2 separate regions of the Homo sapiens genome follow, and region 2 is linked to region 1. Evidence: promoter capture Hi-C in 16 types of primary human blood cells and fetal thymus (Javierre and others, 2016). All regions are on one chromosome and are shown on one strand. The core of a region is centred on a gene start or on the middle of the fragment in contact, and the rest is flanking DNA. Distances in the headings are between cores, read along the strand shown. Region 1 holds the start of PRICKLE2-AS2 (PRICKLE2 antisense RNA 2). Region 2 holds the start of LOC105377121 (a long non-coding RNA gene).

What was found. Contacts are between HindIII fragments. The CHiCAGO score rates a contact against its expected background, and 5 or more counts as called.
Region 2: a contact is called between a fragment that was not itself captured here and the fragment with the promoter of PRICKLE2-AS2 in region 1, in 1 of 17 cell types (megakaryocytes). The highest score is 5.6, in megakaryocytes.

The regions. Positions count from the first base shown.
Region 1 is chr3:64,099,469-64,107,095 of GRCh38, reverse strand. It overlaps PRICKLE2-AS2 (PRICKLE2 antisense RNA 2), which reads right to left and starts at 3,626. Exons shown (of 4, transcript NR_046701.1): 1 at 3,592-3,626; 2 at 2,363-2,603; 3 at 1,201-1,377; 4 at 738-1,082. PRICKLE2 (prickle planar cell polarity protein 2) reads left to right here. Exons shown (of 8, transcript NM_198859.4): 8 at 7,171-7,627. It overlaps PRICKLE2-AS1 (PRICKLE2 antisense RNA 1), which reads right to left. Exons shown (of 3, transcript NR_045697.1): 3 at 3,965-7,627. The HindIII fragment of the contact is 2,788 bases long and covers 1,990-4,777 here.
Region 2 is chr3:64,024,026-64,031,652 of GRCh38, reverse strand. LOC105377121 (a long non-coding RNA gene) reads right to left here and starts at 7,578. Exons shown (of 3, transcript XR_940906.3): 1 at 7,502-7,578; 2 at 6,911-7,028; 3 at 5,293-5,441. RefSeq lists an enhancer at 7,613-7,627. The HindIII fragment of the contact is 547 bases long and covers 4,193-4,739 here.

The DNA of each region.
Region 1 (7,627 bases), core at 2,377-4,876:
AGCTCCCAGTCACACTGACCCTTGGGATATGGATAAATCACTGCGTTTAACTCTATCATCACCCTGAGCACCTCTCATAAAGCCTGCATTATTTGGCAGGGAAAAACCCTCTCTGTTAATTAAGAAAACAGAGCTCTGCTTGAGAGGGAAATGACCTGATATCTGTGTCTCCTTGCCATCAGGTGGGATTCTTCTGCCAGATCCTCCAGAGGATGTAGGGGTACTGATACTGCCCTGGACTATGTGCTGCAGCCAGAGTTCTCTGGCAAATTTAGCTTGCAGCTCCCACCTCCCTATCACACATGTGCTTGAGCACGCACACACAGACACACACACACCCCATGGCTTAAACAACAAGAAAAGAAAAATGTGTTTATTACAGGAGAGTAAGGGCATGTTAGAGCCCCATTAGGTTGGATTCTATTGATTTGCATTATTTTGACACTGTGTCGTGTTCAGCACAGACAAATGGAGTGAAGAGTTGAGCTTCGTCTGTGTAGAGGAGGAATCCCAGCCACGGTTTGGAGGCACAGATAATTTACAACAGTGGCTGGCGTTCAAGTGGATATCAGTGCATCAGGCCCTGTTTCTCAAATTCATTAATCCATACAATCATGCATTCAATGATATTTGTTTGCCTGTAACATATTTGAGTCTTTGCAGGTCATACAGTCTGTCACAACTCCCAACTCCAGAAAGCAACCCTCGACAATATGCAAATGAATAGGTGTGGTTGTGTTCCAATACAACTTTATTTAGAAAAACAGGCAGTGAGCGGTGAGCTGGATTTGGTTCACTGGCCATTGCAGTTTGCAAACTCCTGTTCTAAACAGCTCCATTTTCTTCATGTCTCTGCCCCAGCACATAAATAATAAATAATATAGGAAAGACCCTACTGAAAGGGAGCTAAATCATCAGTATGAGTTGTAAATGTCTGGAGGGCATTCACAGTCTTGAGGCATGCTTTCTTTCCTTGGGGAATTTTAGGCCTTACTAAACCTTCTTCCTGCATACTGAATACCAGGTATGAGGTCAGGGCTAGCAAACAGGAGCACAGTTTCTGCCCTCTTGGAGCTGCTGATCTGTCAAGAAGACAGAGATGAAACAACAACTACACAGATGCACCATAGTCATGATGAACCTTAAAAAGGAAAGATATATTTTTCCTCATCTAATCATCACTACAGCTTTAGTACTCACTTCCTGTCATTATGCCCATCTTACTGATGCATCTCAAGAGGTTTACAAATTTCCCCAAGTCACCCAGCCAGAAAGTAGCTCTCCAGTTCTGTTCGTAGTTAGAGGGGAAAGGAGTGCTTCTCAAGTTGGAGTGTGACCTGTGACAGTACAGTTCCATCTTGGGGACAGTATCAGCTGCTAATTTAAACACATCAACAGAGCTGTGATTAGTAAGGAGAAAACATTTCTGCAGTGCAGGGAGCTCATTATAAATCACGTGTACTTTGACTTTAAAATTGGAGAAACCCCAGATGGTGGGCTATATAATGAATCACCAGAGATGGAGATTGACAGGTGTGATCATGGTATTTTTTTCTGGATGTTTGGAATCCCACCCATGTGGATCACAGCACTGACCCACTCCAGGTTGGAGGGTGGTTGCTTTTTTCCAAGCTGTGGGTAACATGAGAATCCATTTACGTTTATTCCATGAGTATGTATTGAGCACCAAAGGGTACTGGGCACTGCTAGCTCTGCAAGAATACAGTGAAGAGTAGGGAGAAGATCCTGGCTCCCAGGGGATTCATTCAGCTACAAACTTACATATGACCTTAATAAGTCAGGGTGAGTAGTTTAAAAAAGGGTCAAGTGCAATAGTGAGTGGTTGGCCAGAAGACAACTAACTTTGCTACTTTAGAAGGAGTGTTCAGAAATGACACTGCTGAGGAGGTGACATCTACACGAGGACTTTAACAAACAGAAGTCAGGCATGCAAAGGGAAGAGTTTTCCAAGGCCTGCTGGAATAAGCTTATTGTTGTGTTTGGGGAGACAGGGAGGAATGTAAGCACAGCTGAAGCAGAGTTAAGCGAGGAGGAGTGTTTAGTTGATTATCTTGGAGAAAGAGAAGAGAGCCAAGTCACGTAGGGCCTTAAGGTCTGCGTAAGGATTCTAGATTTTGCCAGTAATGAAAGTAACCACAGAACTACCCTTTCTAGAGGCAAGTACACAGTTATTGCTCATCTTTGGTCAACATTGGCCTTTCTGTTCATGCCCTGCATGCAAGAAGACCCTGGAGGAAAATCTGAGTTAATGAATCAGAAGAGAGGCATTTCTCCTCTCTAGAGTGAGCAGGTAGTATTTCCAGTCCCACCCACACATAGTCCAGGGGAATGAATGGCTTACATTTAGGTGAAACTGATAGTAGATGCTGGGCTTGTGCAACAGGACCCTCCTGCTCTGATCAAGCTCTTTTGTTTTTCAAGGGGGTGCCTCAGGTTATCCCGAGCTTTCCCGGGATGCAGAAGCCTGATACCAGAAGGCAGTACACCTCCCAGCAGAATAGAAGCTGCTCTTCTTCGAGGTCACCTCCTCACGGAAATAGGAATCTGTTCACAAGCAGGATGCTCTCAAAAACATTTCACTTCTGGGCTTATGAAAGACAGGTTCGGGAAAACAGCATGCTGGGGAATTAATAGTATTTGCTAAGTTATTTATGCTGACCCTAATTCTACTCAAGAGCTAGGTTGGAAAGCCCTGCAAAGATCATTGTGTCCACCTTTTGTTTCTAGACATGAGTTTGAAGATGTTTTCTTTCCTTTCTTACTAGAGTTCATCCACTCAAACCACTCATTCATCATCTTAGGTTGTTATCCTCTCCTCTCTGCTTTCATATTGGGGAGGCTCTGGAAGTGATTAGGCTGTTGTAAATCGGCTTTTATGATTTGTATGTAAGAGATAAGCAGCAGAGTAAGCAAGCGATTGGAGGCCCCAGCTGCTATTGCCCTGACAGTTATCCCAGGAACGAAATTGAAACAAAAAATTACTGGAGTATATGATATTTAGCTGATTAATTTCTTTATAGGCATATCCAATGTTAAAATTTGACCCTTTAACAAACATTGTTTTATTTTTTATTTATTTATTTGTTTATTTTTTGGAGACAGGGGCTCGCTCTGTTGCCCAGGCTGGAGCACAGTTGCACAATCTCGGCTCACTGCAGCCTCCACCTCCTGGGCTCAGGTGATACTGCCACCTCAGTCTCCCAAGTAGCTGGGACTACAGGCACGCACCACCATGCCCAGCTAATTTTTGTATTTTTAGTAGAGACAGGGTTTCACCATGTTGCCCAGGTTTGTCTTGAACTCCTGAGCTCAAGCAGTCCACCCTCCTTGGCCTCCCAAAGTGCTGGGATTACAGGCATGAGCCACCACACCTGGCCAAACGTTGCTTTACTTTTACTCCATTTTATTGAGATATAATTTACACAGAATAAAGCAAACCAATATTAAAACTACATCTCAGTGAATTTTTACACATGTGTATTGTTTTACAGCCACCATCCAGATTTAGTTATAGAACAATTGCAGTGCCCTAGAAGCCTTCTTCATACCCCCTCCTCCCACTGCCCTGACCTGTATCACTATAGATAGCCTCAGCCTGTTCTTGAACTTCATATAAATGGAATCATACAGCACATATTCTTTTTGCATGTCCAAGCATTTTCTATGAGATACATCCATGTTCTTGGGTGTAGTTATTCGTTCTCATTATTGTGTAATATTCCATTTTATCAGGGTTTCTTCTGAGACTGTTGACAGTTTGGTTTGGAAAATTCTGTGTGGAGGCAAGGAAGCCATCCTTCACACTGTAGGATGTTTAGCAACATCTCTGGCCTCTACCTACTAGACGCCAGGAGAATCCCATCCTAATAGTGACAACCAAAAATGTGTCCAGATGTTTCCAAATTTCCTTCAGAATTAAAAACCATCATATCAGATGAATATATTCTAATGTTAAAGAAACTTTTTATTTGGAAATAATTTCAGACTTAAAAAAAGTTATAAAAATAGAACAAACAACACCTGTAATGTACTCTTTACGTAGATTGATCCATTGTTAACCTTTTGCCACATTTGTTCTTTCATGTTCACATGCATGCACACACACGCACACACACACACATTTTATTTATAAACCATTTGAGAGCAAATTGCATCCATCTGGGCCATTTACCACCATATCCTTCCATATATATTTCCCAAGAGTAAAGATCTTCTCCCACATTATCACCATTATTAATTGACCACAGTAAATTTAGCATAATACTTTTATCTATTGCCCATGTTCCATTTTTTTTTCAGTTGACCAAAAGTTATCCTTTATAGAGGCAGTCCCCAACCTTTTTGGCACCAGGGACCGGTTTTATGGAAGATAATTTTTCCACAGACTGGGGCCAGGGGGTGGGGATGGCTTTGGGATGGTTCAAGTGCATTACATTTATTATGTACTTTATTTCTATTATTACTACATTGTAATATATACTGAAATAATTACACAACTCACTTTAAGGTAGAGTCAGTGGGAGACCTGAGCTTGTTTTCCTGCAACTAGACAGTCCCATCTAGGGGTAATGGGAGACAGTTATGGATCATCAGGCATGAGATTCTCGTAAGGAGCACACAACCTAGATCCTGCATGAGCAGTTCACAACAGGGTTTACACTCCTATGAGAGTCTAATGCTGCTGCTGATCTGTCAGGAGGCAGAGGTCAGGCAGTAGTTGGAGCAATGGGGAGTGGCTGTACATGCAGATGAAGCTTCCCTTACTGACCACTCACCTCCTTCTGTGTGGCCCTGCTCCTAACCAGTCTGTAGCCTGAGGTCTGGGAACCCCTACTTTATAGCATTTAGTTTCCCTAAAGAGCAGGTTCCAGTCCAGGATCAGGTATTATATGTAATTGCCATGTTTCCCTCGTACCCTTTCATCTAGAACATTCTCTCAGTCTTGTCTGGTCTTAAGACTACAGTCCCTTTTTTCATAACAAATGTCCCTCCTTTTGGCATCTGTCTAATGTTTCCTCCTGAATGCATTCGGGTAATACATTCTTGACTGGAATACTACATAAGGGATAGTGTGCCCTTCTGAGTACATCTCAACTGGAGGCATGCAGGGTGCAGTTGCATCTCACCAGGGATGTTAAGTTTGAACTTAAGGTCAAGGTGTTGTCTGATTTTACCTTTGTTTAGTTACTAATTCTTCCCTTGCAACTAATAAGCAATGTGTAGGGAAACACTTTAAAACAATGCTCTCCCCCATCAAATTTTACCCCCTAAATTTAGCACACTTTTTGATTCTTGTGTGAAGCACTCTACCTCCAATGGTTATAAAATGACTTTCCAAATCTGGCACCCCCTTCCTTCTTGTGAACTTACTCTACTGACAGCGGTTGGCATTCCACTATACATAGAGCCCTCTCTTTTCCCTGTTTGTGTATTTATTTATGTTTTTATTTATCTGCTATCAGCATGGACTTGTGAATTCCTATTTGTTTCAGTGGTTTATAAATCATTACTTCACTTAAATATTTGAGTGCTCAAATTGTTCAGATTTGGCCAGTGGGGGCCCCTTCAAGTTAGGCCCTGTGTCCTTCTGACAAACCCCTGCCATATCTTATTTTTAATACTTTCTCACTTTATGGCATAACAAGATCCTGGTTCTTTTAATTTCCTTGCCTTTATCCTGGAATTGGCCATCTTTCTAAAGAGCCTGGATTCCTTTTAGTGGGGAATGGTAGAAAAAACCACAATATATTTATCCATTTTCCTGATAATTGACATTTGAGTTGTTTCCGTTTCTGGGCTATTACAAGAAAGCTTCTCTGAGTACCCTTGTCCATTTCTTGGACCTTCTTACTAACTTCTGATGAATATATAATCAAGAGTGAAGATGGAGAATTGTGGAATTTCTACTCTTGGTCGTACACCCAACAGAAATTCATAAGTCCACAAAAAATGGCCAAGGATATTCAGAGCGGCTTTATTTATAATTCATATACGTATATGTGTATTTAGCTTTAGTAAATATTGCCAAGTAATTTTGCAAAGTGCTCGTAACACTGCTTTAGGTTTTGTCACGGAAGAGGAAGTTGGAGGCCCCAGTAGGAGACAGGAATAATCAGTAGCAGGGGTGATAATGGGCCATTGCAATCCAAAGGCATGTTGTCTATGACCAGGAATGGCAAATTGCTGATCCTTGCAATATGTAATGAGTGGAAAATGCTGAGACTTTGCCACCTGGCCCATTCTTAAACATCTCCTTAGAGAGCTCTGCCTGAAAATGAGCAAAATGGAAGTTACTGCAGTCAGTATCTCCCACTACCTTCAAAATGGTTTTCATCTCAGGGATGCCAAGAGCTCATTTGACAGCAGTTAAGAAATGGAGGTCCATTGCTGGGGCACCCACTGTTTGAGAGCATCAAACCCACTGCTTTACTTTTGAAAGTCCCTCCCCGTGCGACCGAGAGGTCCCTTGGGGTCCCACACACATCTTCTGGCTGCTAGAGACCCATTTACAACCTTGGAGCATTCACTGAATGGTCTGAGAGAGTAAATATTTCTCTATCTATATCTAGGGAGTCACTTAGTGTCCAAGACACTTTTGATAGGGAGCCACCTGCCACTTAGGGACAGCAGGCAAAGCAGGAAACTGCTGCGGGCTAACAGAGAAGTGAACTGGCCCAATATTGTGGAACCAGTGTTTGGTATTGCCAGAAACAGCTTGGGCATGATCCAGCCTCTAGAGCTTAAAGTTTGCTCATCCAAAATATCTGTCCTACAGAGCTTATAGTGCATGATTAGAATCAAAAATGTAATTAAAGTACTTTGCAAAGTGAAACTCCAAATAGAGGAAGCATCATACATAGGATACACAGTGGGCTCTTAGTAACTTTGATGAGCCTTTGGAGGAACTAGTAACTGGTAAAATACATCTCTGGAAGCATTTTAAGTAAGTGCCCCCTCTAGGTAGATAGTGACCTACTGTGGAGTGGAGAGAACCCCCTCACAGGCACATGTGCCCCCTGAGAGGGCCTTTGTGCAGTACACAACTTCACAACGGTATATAATGACCCTAGATAGATGACCAGCAGTGACAGTGATACCCATTGCTGCACATCTGTATTAATCTCTGTGGTCCCCTCCTCTCTTCCCCAGGCCTCTCTGCTGATGGTGGTGCCAAGCGCCAGGAGCACCTATCCCGATTTTCCATGCCTGACCTCAGCAAAGACTCTGGAATGAATGTGTCTGAGAAGCTGAGCAACATGGGCACTCTTAACTCGTCCATGCAGTTCCGGAGCGCAGAGTCAGTTCGCAGCCTGCTCTCTGCCCAGCAGTACCAGGAGATGGAGGGAAACCTCCACCAGCTCAGCAACCCCATTGGCTACAGAGACCTGCAGTCCCACGGAAGGATGCATCAGAGCTTTGATTTTGATGGAGGGATGGCGGGCAGCAAGCTGCCAGGGCAGGAGGGCGTGAGGATCCAGCCCATGAGTGAACGCACCCGGAGAAGAGCTACTTCACGCGACGACAACCGCCGTTTCCGACCTCACAGGTCCAGGCGTTCCCGACGCTCTCGCTCCGACAACGCCCTCCACCTGGCCAGCGAACGCGA
Region 2 (7,627 bases), core at 3,217-5,716, 76 kb after region 1:
GACTTAATATATATGTAATGCTTAAGTACCTAGCACATAGCAAGTGCTATACAAGATTTTGGCACCATTATTATTCTTAGGCTAATTTAAAAGAGCAACGTAAAATTTAAAAAGTTTCCCTGTAAGGTTGAATAACTTACTAAGGAAATCAGAAATAAAGGAATCACAAAGTCCGACATACAGCCACAGCTGAAATACCTCTTTTCTGTGATTTAAGAATGCTGCCTTCTTAGGCCAATGCTAATTATTCACCTGCTTATTAAACATTATTTAAAAAACACTTAAATTGGTATGATACTAACTCACTTTTTAAAATTCATTGACTTGGAATTTTTCTAACCAAGATTAAGTTTATTTGTTTCAATGGTCTGAGTCCATTCACTTTTTTTGCCCATGACAAGGGATGCTGAGTTGAACAGGAAGTAGGGATCAAATCAATAGATAGTTGACTAAATGAAGGAAACAATGATTTGTATATTTTCCGAGGCGATCTTTGAGGTCAAGGTCTAAATTTAGGAATATGGATCTTTAAGGATTTTTTGCTTCATTTGTAACTAAAATCAGGGCAGCGGTTCAAAGGACAGACTCAGCTTTTACACCAGTGGTTTTTTTCAGTGATTTTTCTCCTGTGAGATTTAGAAAATGCTGTGCTTACCATCCAGTGCCTCTGTCGTGCACCCCTGTCCTTCGCTAGGGCTGCACGTCGTCACACCCACCTGGCCTAGAATTCCCCATCTCCGGGTGGGACCGGAAGACAGTCTACCTCCGCACGCCGTGCTCTGCGGGAAGCGGTGGATACTGCTGCCCTCTGCTGGTCACCACTTGAAACACTTCTGGGCTTTTCCGAGGAAAGGGGCTGTGAATAAGCAAAAATCGCAGCACGAGAAGAGGGATGGGTTCGAAACCTCTGTAACCCGAAACCGTCGAGCTCACCCACCCACCAACCTCCTGTGCACCTTGCAAAAAACAAAAAAAAATTTTTTTTTTTTTTTTTTCAAAATAAAAACAGGCCAGGCGCAGTGGCTCACACCTGTAATCCCAGAACTTTAGGGGGCAGAGGCAGGTGGATTGCTTGAGGCTGGGAGTTCCAGACCGGCCTAGGCAACATAGCGAGACCTCGTCTTTACAAAAACTACCCAAAAAAGCCGGGTGTGGTGGTGACCCCCGTAATCCCAGTTACTAGGGAGCTGAGGTGGAAGAATCACTTGATCCCAGGAGGTCGAGGCTGCAGTGAGCTGAGATCGCTCCACTGCACTCCAGCCTGGGCGACAGAGCAAAACGCTATCTCCAAAAAAGTATTAATTAATTAGTTAAAATAAAAACAGTACTAAGTAGTACAGATGAGTGATAGGAAGTCCAATACGGTTCTGATTCGTCCCATGATTAGACCACACCTCTTGTTTAAATGTTTACTGGTTAATTCTTTCCCAATGTTCACTTTCTTGTTCCTATGCTTTGCTCCATCAGCGGGTGGTTGAGACAGTGCTGTTTCAATATGTGCAGGGTAGTTTCTTCAAGTTTATCTTAAGAAATTGCAGTGTACTTGCTGCATGTGTTACCATAGTGCTCTGTGGCTGTGTCTTAATTTCACTTGTTTGCTTACACAAATCAGAGACTCACCCTTCTTTTGTTTTTCTTTCGATATTCCATATTCTAGTGGTTCCTTTGAATTTTTGCTTTTATAGTGTCTCTCCTCTAGTCCTCTTTATCATTTTTGTTGTTAAATAATTGCATTTGATTTCTGGAAATTGCTCCATATCAGCTCATGAACATTTTCTTTATTTATTTCTTTATTATTTTTTACAGCTGCATAATACCCCATCATGTGTTATGTACCATTGTGTATGCAACCATTTTCCTATATTTGGGCATTTAAGTTGTTACCAGTATTTTACAATTTTAAACAATACTGCAATGAATAACCTTGTGCATGGGTATTTTTGAATTTTTGGAGGTGTAGCTTCAGGATAAGTTCCCAGAAGCAGGATTGCTGGGTCAAAGGGTGAATGCATGGGTATTGTTGTTAAATTGCAGGTAATTGTTCTTCTTAGGGTCGGAGACTCCCTATGAGACTGCAAGTGACTAGTATTTATTGTGAGGATAATTTAACAAGTGATTAAAAACACTGGAATATTAGTACTCAAGAAAATAGGGTGTGACGTCAGCGAAGGCAAGAGGCGTAAACTCAAAGAGTTGGGAAGAGCAGGAATAGTAGCATGAATTGGTGTTGTAAAGATGGTTTTGCTGCTGGATTTGCATGTAAGGTTGACCTAAGTCTTTTTGCCACATAGGCTGATGATGATCCACCCCTGTGTGCCATCATTTTCTGTGGCTAGGTTCTTTTCTGTCTGTCTGCTTCTGCTCAGATTCCCTCTGGGCTCCTTTGCTCAGTAAGGCATACCTCTGTTTCTCCTGCCCCTCCTTGCTCCTGATTTCAGCCTGCTATTCAATCTCTGACAGATCCCGGCTGCTCTCCTCCAACATCCTCCCTTCTATTTCATGACCCTATGGTGTCTACACCCACTACTAGCTGGTGATTCCAGCCACAGTTTCTAATTCAGATTCTGAAAAGTAAAAGTCTGAGTGTCCCAGATCTTCCCTTTGGAACAACACTTTGTAGGCTTCAGGTAGATGATCACTTGCAGTTCAGACTGCTTCCCTGGGTGTCATGTGTCTACCCAGGATGAGTCCTACAGAAGGAGTGTGGGTGGAACTAGAGGTATGACAGGTTAACATGATTGATATGTAAATTTTAGGCAATTTACCAGAAGTGGGAGGATGGCCACTTCTCAATGGCTACGCTGGTTCAGCTGCAGGTTCCTGATTTTTCACATCATGTTCCCAGGATCGTATACTTAGCGCCCTGCAGATGACTGTGTGCTGATTTTCAAACCACAAAGAGGAAAACAAACTAGAAAAACCTCTTTATCACCACTTATTTTATACACAAAGGGGGGTAATTATTAAAGGAACTAAGGAAATTGGCACAAAGTAACTGTTTTTAAAGATGACCCTAACCCAAGCCCATCATTTTGATCTAACCTCAAATATCACTTCATCAAAAAAAAAAAACCTTTTCTATTCCATTCGTGCATTCATGCCTTCACTAATTTTGCCACTAATTGAATAATTTATTTAATCGTGTATTGCTTCTCAGTCTCTTTCTACCCTTTCCCCACCAGAATGTGAACCCCATGAATTTTCTGACCACTGCTCTGTCTGGTACCCCAGCACATAGTAAGAGGTCTATGCTAACAGTGGGGTTGCATGAAGTGTGTCATCCTGGGGGACACATTTCACTCTCCCTGCCTTGTGCAAGTGTCTTCTCGTCATGGAAAAAGAAAACTGATATTGCTCTCAGCAATTACCCAACCTGCTCCAGAAACAACAGTGTTTCCTAAGCACTCTTTTTCCTTCAAAATACTCTTTTGGAAAGGAGTAATTTAGTGAGGAAGAAATGAGCATGCTACATCAATTGATCATGATGCTGCAATAACCCTGAAATTTTTGTGCGTTCCAAGCGGATACTCTATGTAAAGTTTCCATCCTATGTGGTGTAATCAATAACTGCCTAACAGGAAGGATGCTGGCAGGAGCAGAGATAACTCCGCCTGCACAAACCCATCTTGGACATATGCAGGAAAGCTATAATCAGGGCCGCGCACATAAATTATTTGAAATTCAATGAAAAAGCTGAAAGTGCATGTAATTAAAAGTGAGCAAAGCAGATAAAGTCAATTATACACTTAGAGGAACATTGTTTTATGCAGTGGGCATGGTAGTCATCAAAATCAACAGCCCGTGGGGCCTGTACAGAGAGCTGACGACGCTCTGCTCAGAATGAAGGAATCCAGTGCCCTAAATCAGAGCAGCCTTTTCAGAGCCATATAATCTCACATAAAGGAAAAGTACAAAGGCTGAAAAGGAGGAGGGCCCTGCTTGGTGCGATCTCGAAATAAAACCAGGTTCTAATAGCAAAGGGCTTGCAACACAGATAAAAAAAGGAAGAAAGAGTGCTTTCTAAAATAAACCCTAGAACCAGAGCAAATAAGAAAAGGTATGTATGCCCTTAGCTCACCATAGCCTGTTTCCATCAAACATTTTAATTTCCATGGGGCAGGATATATATCTACCAAGAAGATACACATTTATTTTTCCTCCCTGAGATTACAAAAACCTCAGGTTTCAAGCTTAAAGAAGGGGCTTTGTAAAACTAGTTAATCCAGTCAAATTGAGTTAATGGCTACAAAGAGATTGATGGAATGGACAATTTACTGTTCAATAATGAGTTGTCAATATGGGGCAAAGAGCTGCTTTGATCAGCTGGGCAGTCAAATCACAGCCACAGTTCAGGGCTCGATTGATTCCTCAGCAATTAATGGTTATGATAGTAAAAAGAGAAGAAGACAGATCTGACTGGAAATTGGTCTCCTCTGTGCTGAGTGGAGAGGCTGACAGCAGGGCATTGTGCACCTTGAAGCTCATTTGCACCTGGAATAATGAAGAGTCATAGAATCCCCTGCAATTGAGATTTTCTGGCAATTGCAACCTTAATTTGATTATGCGTCTATACTAGGACGAACTGGAAACCAGAATGAACCAGTCACATACAATTTAAACTACAAGACTATTTATACAGGTTTCCCCCTATACTTCAACATGAGTTTTGGATCATACATCCAATTCTTGTCACAAATGTAAACAGGCTGATACATTTAACTATGTAAACATTGTAAGCTTTTATGTTGAAGAAAAACCCCTAAAAATTTAGAAAAATAAATGAGGGGGGAAACTGTGATACTTGGAAATTAACAAAGTTAATATCCTTAAAATATGAAGATTGCTTACTAGTCAGTGAGGAAAGATTCCATAGAGAATTGACAAAGCCAAACAAGAATTTCATAAAACAGAAAATATATGTGGTCAGTAAAATGTGAAAAAAAGATTAACCTCACCAATCATAAAAGGAATGCAAAGGAAAAGCAACTGTTAGCAAAACTTAAAATAGCTGATGAAAGTACATTGGGAGACAGGTCTGATGGGGTTCAGGACACGCAATCTCAAAATATCACACCTTGTGCTTTGAGGAAGTGGTAGAAGCAGGAAGGTCACTCTCATCTTCTCTGTGCCCTTCTCGCTTGAAGCCAGTTATAAAAGAATTCCCTGAACTTCCTATAAGGTAGGTCATAAGACCCTCATTCCAAACATATTATCCCTATGCTCAAAGAAAAGAAATCCCTTATATATGAAGATACAGGGACACAGAGAAGAATCTGAACACACAGACCTTGGTAAGTCCCCCCAGTTTATTACCATCACATCACACCCCCTTTGACCAATCATACTTCTACATAACTGTCCATTCTTCATCAAATTTACCTTACAAATATACAGATTTCTTCATTTCTTTGGGTCTTCATTTCCAAAGGCTCTCATGTCACCTAAAATTTATATTAAATATATTTGTATGCTTTTCTTCTGTTATTTTATTTATTTTATTTTTTTTGAGACAAAGTGTCACTCTGTCACCCAGGTTGGAGTGCAGTGGCACAATCTCAGCTCACTGCAACCTCCGCCTGCTGGGTTCAAGCAATTCTCCTGCCTCAGCCTCCCGAGTAACTGGGACTACAGGTGTGCGCCACCATGCCCTGCTAATGAGGTTTCACCATGCTGGCCAGGCTGGTCTCAAATTCCTGACCTCGTGATCTGCCTGCCTCAGCCTCTTAAAATGCTGGGATTACAGGTGTGAGCCACCTCTCCTGGCCCTGCTATTCTATCTTTTATTATAGGTGCCTCAGCTATGAACCTCGCAATGGGTGAAGAAAGGATACTACTTTTTCTCCCCTGCAGGTTCTCTGTTCAATATTAGTGGCAATGTAAATTGATATATATATCATTTGTGGAAAATAATTCATAAAATACTTACAGAATACATCAAAATATAAAATATTAATGCCCTCTTATTCAGCAATTGCACGTCTAGAGATTTAGATTGAGAAATAACTATTTAAGTGTGAAAATATATATGTACACGGATAAGTGACACTGTAATATTAATAAGATTGAAAAAAACAAAAATAACCCAAATCAACCAGCACTTAAGGACTGATGAAGAAAAAGTTGGTATAGAAATATAATGGGCCGGGTGTGGTGGCTCACACCTGTAATCCCAGCATTTTGGGAGGCTGAGGTGGGCGGATCTCCTGAGGTCAGGAATTCGAGACCAGCCTGGCCAATATGGTGAAACCCCGTCTCTACTAAAAATACAAAAATTAGCCAGGCTTGGTGGCACGTGCCTGTAATCCTAGCTACTCAGGAGGCCAAGGCAGGAGAATCGCTTGAACCCGGGAGATGGAGGTTGCAGTGAGCCAAGATCACCCCACTGTACTCCAGCCTGAGATCCGTCTCAAACAGAGTGAGATCCGTCTCAAAAATAACAAACAAACAGAAATAAATATAATGGAATCCTATATGGTCAATCCATTGTCATCCAAGATATCCACAATACATGGTAGAATGAATAAAACACAGTTTAAAATGTGCGAGTATAGAATGATCATGTTAATATACCCAGATGAGTTTTAAAGAAGCTATGCTTCTCTGGAATGTAAGTTCCAAAGACAGGGCTTTGTGCTCTTCACTGCTGAGTCCTTGAGGCCTAAGACAGTGCCTGGTACTTTGTAACCATGCAATCATGTTTGTTGAATGACTAAATGAAAGAATTTTAGAAAGTTTTTTACCAAAAGTTTAGCAGTGGTGGAGAGCTATTTAATAGTATTTTTTTTTTACTCTTCATATTTTCTCTATCATTTGAGTTGTCTTCAAAATGCTTGTTTCATTTTTATAGAAACAAATAATAGATTTAAATTATGTGATGATGCCTACTGCCTGTGAGATGTGGCAGTCTCACCTGTTTCAGCAGCTGTGTAAACTGGTTCAGCTCTTTTGGAAAACCATTTAACATTAAATATCCCCAAGTCACAAAATCCTTCTTCCCTTTGTCCGTTATTCCTTCATGGGATTTTATGCTAAGGAAAAAGATGCAAAACATGAAGTGATCTAGACATCCAAAGTCTTCATCCAAGTTTTTATATTAGGTAAGTAAAAACTCTGGTCAACCTAAAGACACCTCTAACAGAGGGAAGAGTGAAAGTAAATTATGGTAAATCCATTAGATGGAATTTAGGCCAGGCATGGTGGCCCACACCTGTAATCCCAGCACTTTGGACGACTGAGGCGGGGGAATCACTTGAGGTCAGAAGGTCAAGACCAGCCTGGCCAACATGGTGAAACCCCGTCTCTACTAAAAATACAAAAATTAGCCCGGCATGGTGGTGCAGGCCTGTAATCCCAGCTACTTGGGAGGCTGAGGCAGGAGAATCGATTGAAGCTGGGAGGCAGAGGTTGCAGTGAGCCAAGATTGTGCCACTGCACTCCAGCCTGGGTGACAGGGCAAGACTCCGTTTCAAAAAAAAAAGGAATTTAATGTAAAGATTACCACCTCTGAAGATCTGTAGCAATGTGAACAAAAGGAAGCTGAAAATGCAGGCATGTAATGATTTAATTTATGTGTAAACAAAACGATGATGCTGTTGTACTATGACGTAGAATCCTGGGTGCAGTTTTT